2 separate regions of the Homo sapiens genome follow, and region 1 is linked to region 2. Evidence: promoter capture Hi-C in human tissues and cell types (Jung and others, 2019). All regions are on one chromosome and are shown on one strand. The core of a region is centred on a gene start or on the middle of the fragment in contact, and the rest is flanking DNA. Distances in the headings are between cores, read along the strand shown.

Region 1 (4,885 bases), core at 815-3,314, 310 kb after region 2:
ATTATTTTCATATCGATTTAAACCAATTTTCATCCCAAGTCAGATATAAAAGGCTAGGGAAACCATTAACTTCAGTGGCACTGCCTCAAAATGTACAGGCTATTTGTATTTAAATTTAGATTTATTCCTCCAGAGCCAATGATCAGGTGCTGGTGCTATGTGAAAAATGTCTCAGATGAGCTGCACAGATTCAGAGTTAGGACATTTCTTTGGTGGTTTCTAATTTCTCATTTAGCCAAGCCATCTTACTTGAAGTTCTATGAACTAGAATTTCTGTGAATTTTTTCTCAGTTTAATCATATGAACTTTAGTGGTCAACACAAAACCATTTCACTCATAGAAGTGATGATTCTGCTACACGGGAAATGAAGTGAATTTCAAAATTAAAGTAAAGCAAAGGACTTCCATTATAACAATCAACGGGGTGTACCATTACTCATCACCCCTTTTTCATGCATTTAGCAAGTGTTTACTGAGGTCCTACTGTACAAAGAAATTTGCTAAACCCTGTGGAGAACATAAACACAAATAAATCATGAACCCAGATGTAAAGTTCACAATCTATGAAGAAGACAGATCCCTTCTCTGCTAGGGCAACTATCATTCACACCCAACTTTTACACTGAAGAAAGTTCTTAGATTCTTGAGGCAATTTGAATGTTTGTAACACCTCTTTTATTTCCCTCTTGCCTGGACAGTAATTTCTAGTAAAGTCAGGCAGTTTCTTGGAAGATAGTACCAGACTGTAATTTTTGGAGCCACTTACAAATCTGATGTTATTCAATACGAACAAATGTAAGTTCCTCAATGTGTACCCCATATCCCAACAATGCAGGTAGATGACAAAGAAGATGTGCATTTTAAGTGGTGAATATAGAAGTGGCCTCAGAAACTTACCTGGGGGAAAACTCAATAGGAGTCAGTAAATACAGTTTAGGCTATTTTAATAGAGGAGTGTTCAGAACAGGGAGGTCATGATCCTACTTTTTTCTGTGTCAGATCACACTGAGAATATTACATTCAGTTCTAGACATGACAATTAAGATTTAAGGATTTTAAAAAAAGTATTAGCCAGAGAAGATGATTCTGGGACACACAAAATAAACAATGTGACACACTCATTTCATAAACACATTCAAGCTTCTTTTCCTGGATTAGTAGTTTGAGGAAGATGAGATTTACAATTCAGCGAGGCCAATGTCATTGGTGTAATATTTGGCAGGGCCACTGTGCCCTGCTATTTCACGGCCACACATTTCCTCCTGACTCTGGCTGGCTGTTCCACAGCAGCGTGGCTCTGGGGACAAGGTGGAGCCCAGGGACACATTGCAAATGCACAAGAGTCAACAGATCCCCACTCCAAGAAAAACTATTCAAGAAAAGCTATTTAATTCACCCTTTTAACATGATCTTATTAAATAAATATTTGTGGAAGAGAGGAAGGCAAAATAGAGCTGAAGAGAAAGGGGGAGGAAAAAGAGGAAAAGGAAGGCAAAAATGAGAAACATTTTTCCAAAATAATTTGTGGTAATAAAAATTACTTAATCTGGAAATTTGTATTGCCAGAGAGCGAGAACATAAAAAAGAACTGCCAGATTGGAATGAAGACTCCTTTCCCCAGTGGTTATACTTTGAAAAAAATGTGGATTACAGCATTTTGTAAACAGATCAAGTTCAATGAAACAAAAAATATAAATGACTGCTTGGAAAGAAAACTTATTTATCTCATGGGAGATTCAACACTGCATCAGTGGATTTACTACTTACAAAAAGCTGTGAAAAGTATGTATTTAATTTATATTTTGAAATTCTATTTGACTTTTGAGGGTTTTGAAATAATAATTAGAATTATTTGCTTTTCTTTTCTAATATTTATTTTATTTTATTTTATTTTATTTTATTTTAAATTTGCCTAACTTTTGGCTTTGGGCTTTTAATAAAAAGTTAAATTTTATCTTTTCATTCACAAATGTTAATATTTTTCTTCCTCTTCATGTATTCTCATAACAAGTTCAATATTTTGTTAAGATTGTAATGCACCTGGTAAAATTATCCACCTTACATAGGCAATAGTGCTTAGTTAGAAGTGATCTTGGTTAGAATTTTATACATGTTGTGTGCAGTTTAAAGTTATATCATTTTCCTTTTGTTAAAATATTTATTGATTTGTCTTTCATCAGCCCTAAAATATTTTGATCATCATGGAGCTGGGATCTTTAAAACACATGTTCTTCTGGATGTTGAAAGACATATTTTGATTCAGTGGAAAAAACATGGTCATCCATTTGTTACCAAAAAATTATTCTCAGTGAAAGATGAAAACTATATCCCACGGGAAATTGACCAGGTAGCAGGAGACAAAAACACAGCCATTGTCATTACCCTCGGCCAACACTTCAGACCCTTTCCCATCAACATTTTCATCCGTAGGGCCATCAATATTCAAAAGGCCATTGAACGTCTATTCTTGCGAAGCCCGGAGACCAAGGTGATACTTAAAACTGAAAACACCAGAGAGATAGAACAAAATGCAGAGATGTTCAGTGACTTTCATGGCTATATTCAGAATCTTATCATAAGAGATATTTTTGTGGATCTTAATGTGGGTATTATTGATGCCTGGGACATGACGATTGCATATTGCACCAACAATGCCCATCCACCGGATTATGTGATTCAAAATCAGATTGGCATGTTCTTAAACTACATTTGTTAGAGGAAAAATACAAAAATAGCACTAGCCACTTTCTATAGATGATCTCACATATACAGCGAAGATAGTTTAATGCAATCCAAGTTTTGAGGAAACTAAATTTGAAAAAGTTCTATTAAAGTTAAATATATGTAACATAACATTTACCATTTAAGCCATTTTATTATTTTATTTTATTTTTGAGATAGAGTTTTGCTCCTGTTGCCCAGACTGGAGTGCAGTGATGTGATCTTGGGTTACTGCAACCTCCACCTCCAAGGTTCAAGTGATTCTCCTGCCTCAGCCTCCCAAGTAGCTGGGATTACAGGTGCCCACCACCATGCCAAGCTGATTTTTGTATTTTTTAGTAGAGATGGGGTTTCACTATCTGGTTGGCCAGGCTGGTCTCGAACTCCTGACCTTAGGTGATCTGCCCACCTCGGCCTCCCAAAGTGCTGGGATTACAGGCATGAACCACCATGCCCGGCATTATTTTATTTTATTTTTCGAGACAGTCTCACTCTGTCACCAAGACTGGAGTGCAGTGGCATGATCTCAGCTCATTGCAACCTCTGCCTCCCGGGTTCAAGCGATTCTCCTGACTCAGCCTCCCACGTAGCTGGGATCACCAGTGTGCAGCGCCACACCTGGCTATAAACCATTTTTAAGCGTACAATTCAGTGATATTAAGTAATTTACAATGTTGTGAAACCCTCATCATGATCCATCTCTGGCACATTTTTAACATTCCAAAAAGAAACTTGGTACCTATTAAACAATAACTCCCCATTCGCTCCTGTCCTTGGCCCATGGCAACCGCCATTGTATTTTCTGTCCTTCTGAATTTGACTATTTTAGGTAGCTCATATAAGTGGGAACATGCAGCATTTGTCCTTTTCTGTCTGGCGTATTTCACTTAGCATATGTCTTTAAGGTTCATCCATATTGTAGCATTTGTCAGAATTTTCCTTCATTTTTAAGACTGAATAATATTCCGTTGTAAGTATGTACTACATTTTGTTTATCCATTCATTTGTTGATCGACATTTGGGTTGTTTCCCCTTTTGGCTACTGTAAATAGTGCTTCTAGGAAGAGAAAACCAAATTTAAAGGCATGTCTCCAGTGCTGAGCATGATGATTGAATAGCAAATCATCATCACCCATAATTTGAAGACATGTGCAGCCCAGAAATGCATAGATTAAATGATTCAAGTTTAGAGAAAATGTGATGTATACAGGAAAACTTAGTGGGATCATAATAGCAGTCTTCTTGCTTAGGAAAATTATTTGGAACTTAGTAACCAGTTGTTCTCTAGATTCCAGTAAGAATCATGGATCACACTTCAAAACCCACAGGCTCATTGAGAGAAAACAACTTAGTATTATGTTAACGTACAGACCCCAAAACCTTGATTCTTGGATATCCTAAAATATGATTTGGGATCCCCTCCAGAGGGCCTCAAATGACAAATTTTGTCTCTAAATCTTCCTCTCATTAGAAAGATATACACCCTTTCTATTAATATACTCTAGGTCTCAAGAGTAGGAATATTGTTATTAAGGATACTTCCCCTCTTAGGACTGTGTTTCTTAGTTAGAGGAAGTGAAGTTATAATGCTGTAACATCAGTACAAAGTTTGGGTCGTCAGGAGGTGGAGGTTGCAGTGAGCCAAGATTGCACCACCACACTCCAGCCTGGGTGACAGAGCGAGACTCCATCTCAAAAAAAAAAAGAAAAGAAAAGAAAAGAAAAGAAAAGCCTAGGTCATAAGTCTGGGTCATACACTTTAGCACCAGACTTCTCTAAATAGGGAACTCACGTTAGAAATTTCTTCCTTGTATCAAGCTACTTATTGGTTCTAATTCCTCCTTTAGGAAACTTTGAAAGTAAATTTAATTATTCTTCCAACCATTGCAATGTTAATTGCTTAAATGAGTTATCGTTTTCCCATGAAGACCATCTCAAATTCCTTCAACCTGGTTCTGACATGATAGTTTCTAGTTTTCTTACCTTCTCTTCACATGCACTGAAGTTTGTCTATATCACTCTACAACTCACTCTACAATGTGCCTTCTCCCTCATCTCTCACCTCAACAAATTGAATGTTTTAATTTAAATGTGATCCATTAGCCCCTATAAAAGAGGGTCTATTATTTCTCTTGTTCTAGAATTGCACTGTACAACACAGTAG
Region 2 (4,949 bases), core at 340-2,839:
AACCCATTAACTTTCTCAAAATACCACCCTTTAAACATTGGGAAATGTATGGTTAAGAGAACAAAAATAACAGCAAATAAGGAGTGATCAGCCAGGTAAGAGAAGAACCAGGATAGTGCAGTATTATGATGAAAAAAAAAAAAAAAAAGTCACTGCAACCAGTACTTATGTTTATTACTGTACCTAATAAACAGCCCAGCGTGGTGATTCCTATTCACTTAGTAGCCTCCCCATCTAGAATATACTCCGTGATCTTTCTTGATGGCCAGACTGTGTAAAATTCATACAGTGTTTACTACAGGGATCCCCAAATATTGTTAGTTGAATGAACAAACACACATTTCAAGGAGGGCACTACAGTGAGTAGATGAACAGTTTTCTGATAGGAGATTGTACAAGTAATGTTTTCACCAGTGTATTTTAGGACAGCAGATTCAGATTAATGCGCTGGGACTGAATGCAAATAGTAAAATTACAAATATAAAGTAAAAATTTGGAACCTTTGCCAAAGAAAGGAATAATAAATTGATTTAATAATTTGAAAGAACTGTAAGGTTTAGGTTTTGTTCTTATTTTTAGTGCGACTGAGATTGGAGTCTGTTTGTAGACATATCTGAAAAAAGTGAAGGGGGAGATGGAAGATGGTAAATGCCAAGGAAAAGATGGAAGGATAAATCAGTGTAATAAAAAGGAGCACTTCTTTTTCGCCAACAGAAGTAAAGGTAAAGGTTAAGTGTCTGAGTTAACGAATGGATTGTTGACCTCTGGGGAGGGTGCTCCCATCAGCTCAGCTTTGTGACGACCTAAGAATATCCCTTCCACACCTTTCCTGATCCAATCGTTCTGGCTGCATAAAACCACCTAAATCAATCAACTGTTACACTTCCCTTAGTGCTAGGACATATTCATATAACTCCCACGTATTAAATGAAAATACATCCATCTAAAAATAAAACAACACGATTGCTGCTACACCAAGAAAGGATTTTAAAAAGGCCTGTTCACAAGCTAAGTGAGGGCCAGAGGAAAGGTGTTCGTTTAAACTGAAATTCGAGCTGCGATAACACCTCCTAATGCAATCAAACGCTGTTGCAGCACACTTCTTAGGAGATCGGGTTCAACGGCAGGGATTGGGTAAGGTGAGAATCTGGCTTGGCGGCTCCGGCCCCGGCCATCTGGTTCCCTTGGGCTCCGGCCGCCACCATCCACTCGACGGCTCTCGGCCCGAACGCTTGGTCGCACCGCCTGCCGAGGTCCTAGATGAATCGCTTCAGGCCTGGAAACGAGGAAGCCGTCTCCGGAGACCATCGCCAACGCTGACGCCCGCGGTCTGAGGTCGCCATGGGAAGAGCGGTAGGCCACCCTGCTCCTCTGATCACCGGAGGACAGGGACACATTGTTCAGGGCCATATTCAAACACTGCCCGCAGTACTTGCGTTACGTCCCTTTGTGAAGGCAGGCCCTTCGCGGCTCCCCAGATCAGTCCAGCCTGTGTCGGACCCGATGACTAAGCACACAGGAACCCATAACTGAGCCTGCGGAAGAGCCAGAAGCCGCCTTGCCTTTAACGAGGGGTATCCTGGCGAGCATGCGCAGACCGTCCGCGCACGTCGTCGCCCGCTGAGAGCAAGCGCAACGGGCGTTTTCGTTTGTGACGCCAGGGAGCGTGAGGACGTGGGGCTTCCGTGAATGCGCAGTGGGTGCGTCGGCCACGACCTTTTGGCCAGGTTAGGGAGGGGGCGACGCTGAGATGGGGGCGGCGGCGGCGGAAGCGGATCGCACTCTCTTTGTGGGCAACCTTGAAACGAAAGTGACCGAGGAGCTCCTTTTCGAGCTTTTCCACCAGGTAAGCGGCTGGGTTCGGCCCTTTGCCTTTCGTTTTCCGTCTCGCCTAGGGCCTGGCCAGCGGCCACCCCGTTTTCTTTTCGTAGCCGTCAGGGGACCCGACGGGTGGCTGTTTGGGGGTGAAAGGCGGGTCTGGGTTGCGAAACGCTCGCTGGGTGTCGCTTTCCTGGAAGATCTTGGTTCGTTTAGGCCGAAAGTGACGACTAAAGGTGGTGGAGGGATCCTCGATCAGGTTTCCCGTGGTAGAGATCCAGGGGTCCTTGGGAACACAGTGTGTGTGTAGGGTCTTCGTTGAGCAGTGCTTTTTCTTATCCTTCCTGTTGTCATCTTCCCCTTAGGATAATTTGTCTTTGGTTTATCTGACTGGGAACTTAATATTTTAATTTATTTGTGTCTGTTTTCCCCTAAAGTTTGCTTATCAAATTGCAGCATTATTAAAATATGTAAAATAAAATGGTTAAGTACTCCGTAGAAAAACAGCATTTTAGTGTTGCTGTATTAAAAAGTGTGAAAAATTCTGAGTATCCTATTCCCCCCATCCCTATCCCCTAATAACTGGTATTGTTTGATTAATCAATACAAAAGTCCGTTTTTAGTTAAAGAAAATCATTCTCTTGTTCTTGATAAATGTTCATTTTCATGGAGTGGCAAAATAATGGCGATTGGTCACTATGTTAAGCCATACAGTGCTGTGAATTGCAAAAGTGATTGTGTTTCCAGTTCCTTATGGGCCCCCTTCCCCAAATAAATCTAATGTTCAGTCATAACTAGGATGTTTACTGTAGCCAAAATGGAAATCCGTGCATCATTTTCAAAAGAAGTTTCTGATTACGTTTCTGTTGTTTTTAAACTTTGTCATATCTTATTTGTAAAATTTGAGTATTTTCCCTTAGTTGCTTTATTTAAATTCTAAACACCTTTTTGTTTGTAGGCTGGGCCAGTAATAAAGGTGAAAATTCCAAAAGATAAGGATGGTAAACCAAAGCAGTTTGCGTTTGTGAATTTCAAACATGAAGTGTCTGTTCCTTATGCAATGAATCTACTTAATGGAATCAAACTTTATGGAAGGCCTATCAAAATTCAATTTAGATCAGGTAACTGCCCAATGAGGTTCGGGGGGCATTGTTTCCTGCTGTTTTTAAATTTATTATTCAGTTTTAAAGAACCTCTTATTTGTAGATGAAACTTCTTTCTTAAGCATTGTGAATAGTAAACTTTATATAGCAAACTTTATATATCCCTGAAAACGGGTAACATTGACACATGGATTTTGAAATTAGAATTTCAAAACTGAGCTTAAAGTTTCATTTTGGGTTAGTGAAAAAACATAAACTGTATCACTAAGAGAGCTGGGCTTGGGTACTCTGAAAAGAGCTAGGTTTATTTTCTGAAAATACTTCTCCTGGCTGCTTTGTAATTACTTTTATATATTTTGGTTCTTGATCATGTGAGGATGAAACTGTCCATGTATCCAGTGTTACAATTTAGGGTGGAGATCAGAAAATTATGGTCAGATTGGATATTTATGGAGTGCTTTGTTTTGCTTATCTGATATTATACACTTATAATTTTCACCCCGATGAAGCCGTAAAGCGGTCTACAGCAGCTTGAGATTCTTTTTTTTTTTTTTTTTTTTTTTTTTTTTTTTTTTTTTTGAGATGGAGTCTTGCCCTGTTGCCTAGGCTGGAGTGCAGTGGTGCAATTTCAGCTCACTGCAACCTCTGCCTCCCAGGTTCAAGTGATTCTCCTGCCTTAGCCTCCTGAGTAGCTGGGATTACAGGTGCACGCCACCACGCCTGGCTAATTCTTTGTATTTTTAGTAGAGGTGGGGTTTCACCATGTTGGTCAGGCTGGTCTCGAACTCCTGGCCTCGAGAGATGTGCCCACGTCAGCCTCCCAAAGTGCTGGGATTACAGGCGTCAGCCACCGCGCCCGGCCAGTAGTTTGAGATTTTTCTCTTTTAGATTGTGTTTACCTTTTTGGAGTGATTTCAAGTGGGGAAGACAAAATTTCAAATTAGATTTTCTATCAAGAATAATTTTTCAAATTGTTTCATTTTAGGAAGTAGTCATGCCCCACAAGATGTCAGTTTGTCATATCCCCAACATCATGTTGGAAATTCAAGCCCTACCTCCACATCTCCTAGCAGGTAATATTTCTCACTTATTGTTAAGATCATTTATCAGGAATTCTTATAGGGAATAGCCTCAAAACACATGAGTAAATAGTCTCCTTCATTATTCTCTTATCTCTTCATTCTGCCGTTATTACTTGCCTTTTGGGGTTGTTGTTATGTATCTATTCTAAGGGGTATAGAATGTGTCTATTCTATAGACAAACACATTGTATATAGTCCCCTTAGAATAGATACGTATATAACTATTTGTTGATTTGTAGCGACATAACCATACCCACATATGTGTACAGTACATGTATACACTTGAAACAAAATTTCTCAAAACATTATTTACCCTCACTACTTGGATTACTATTTCATTTAAAACATTTTAAAATTTATTTTACAGTCATTAATTGGTTGTTACTTACAGTTGAAAAATACCAGTTAGTCAACAGTCTATTGGACTAAGAATTCCTAGAATTGGATTCTAGGTCTGCATCTATCAATTGTGTAATCTTGAGCTAGTCTCCTTTCTTTAGTCCCGTCTTCCCATGTGTAAGGAAAATAAGTTGAATTAAATGATTTGTAAAATCTCTTCAGGTACTGAGTATTAGAAAATATCATATTTACTTAAATGATTTTATTTGCTTTGGGGAGGTTCATATTTTACCAGGGACAATTTTTCCCGGTATATCCATAAAGCTATTTAACAGTCATTTAAGAAAGATTTAATAAATACCTGCCATATGTCAGGTTCTTCACCATATCTTTTACATATATGATTTCATTTATTCCTCACAGCAGTTTTATGAGGGTAGGGATTATTTTTATCTCTACCTCTTATATGAAGGGAAATGAAAAATGGAGGTTAACTTGCTCAGGTTCAGTGGGCTGGGATTCAAACCCAGGCAGTGTAGTGTGATTGAGCCCAGCCACTATGATGTATTATCTAGAGGAGCTTAAAGTCTAAATGAAGACACATATT

What was found. The method cuts DNA at HindIII sites, captures the fragments that hold promoters and counts their contacts. A contact is called where the count stands out against the background at its distance.
Region 1: a fragment that was not itself captured here is called in contact with the fragment with the promoter of C11orf71 in region 2 in 1 of the 25 tissues and cell types used here (mesendoderm cells).

The regions. Positions count from the first base shown.
Region 1 is chr11:114,704,215-114,709,099 of GRCh38, forward strand. NXPE2 (neurexophilin and PC-esterase domain family member 2) reads left to right here. Exons shown (of 6, transcript NM_182495.6): 5 at 1,567-1,782; 6 at 2,181-2,855. The coding sequence ends at 2,716. Among named protein-coding and RNA genes, the nearest start is that of NXPE2, 28 kb to the left of the region's middle. The HindIII fragment of the contact is 6,972 bases long and covers 1-4,885 here.
Region 2 is chr11:114,398,922-114,403,870 of GRCh38, forward strand. C11orf71 (chromosome 11 open reading frame 71) reads right to left here and starts at 1,590. Exons shown (of 1, transcript NM_001271562.2): 1 at 1-1,590. The coding sequence starts at 1,410. The coding sequence ends at 1,039. It overlaps RBM7 (RNA binding motif protein 7), which reads left to right and starts at 1,745. Exons shown (of 5, transcript NM_001286045.2): 1 at 1,745-1,846; 2 at 2,777-2,939; 3 at 3,907-3,994. The coding sequence starts at 1,751. RefSeq lists enhancers at 832-1,374, 1,088-1,477, 1,375-1,917. The HindIII fragment of the contact is 14,324 bases long and covers 1-4,949 here.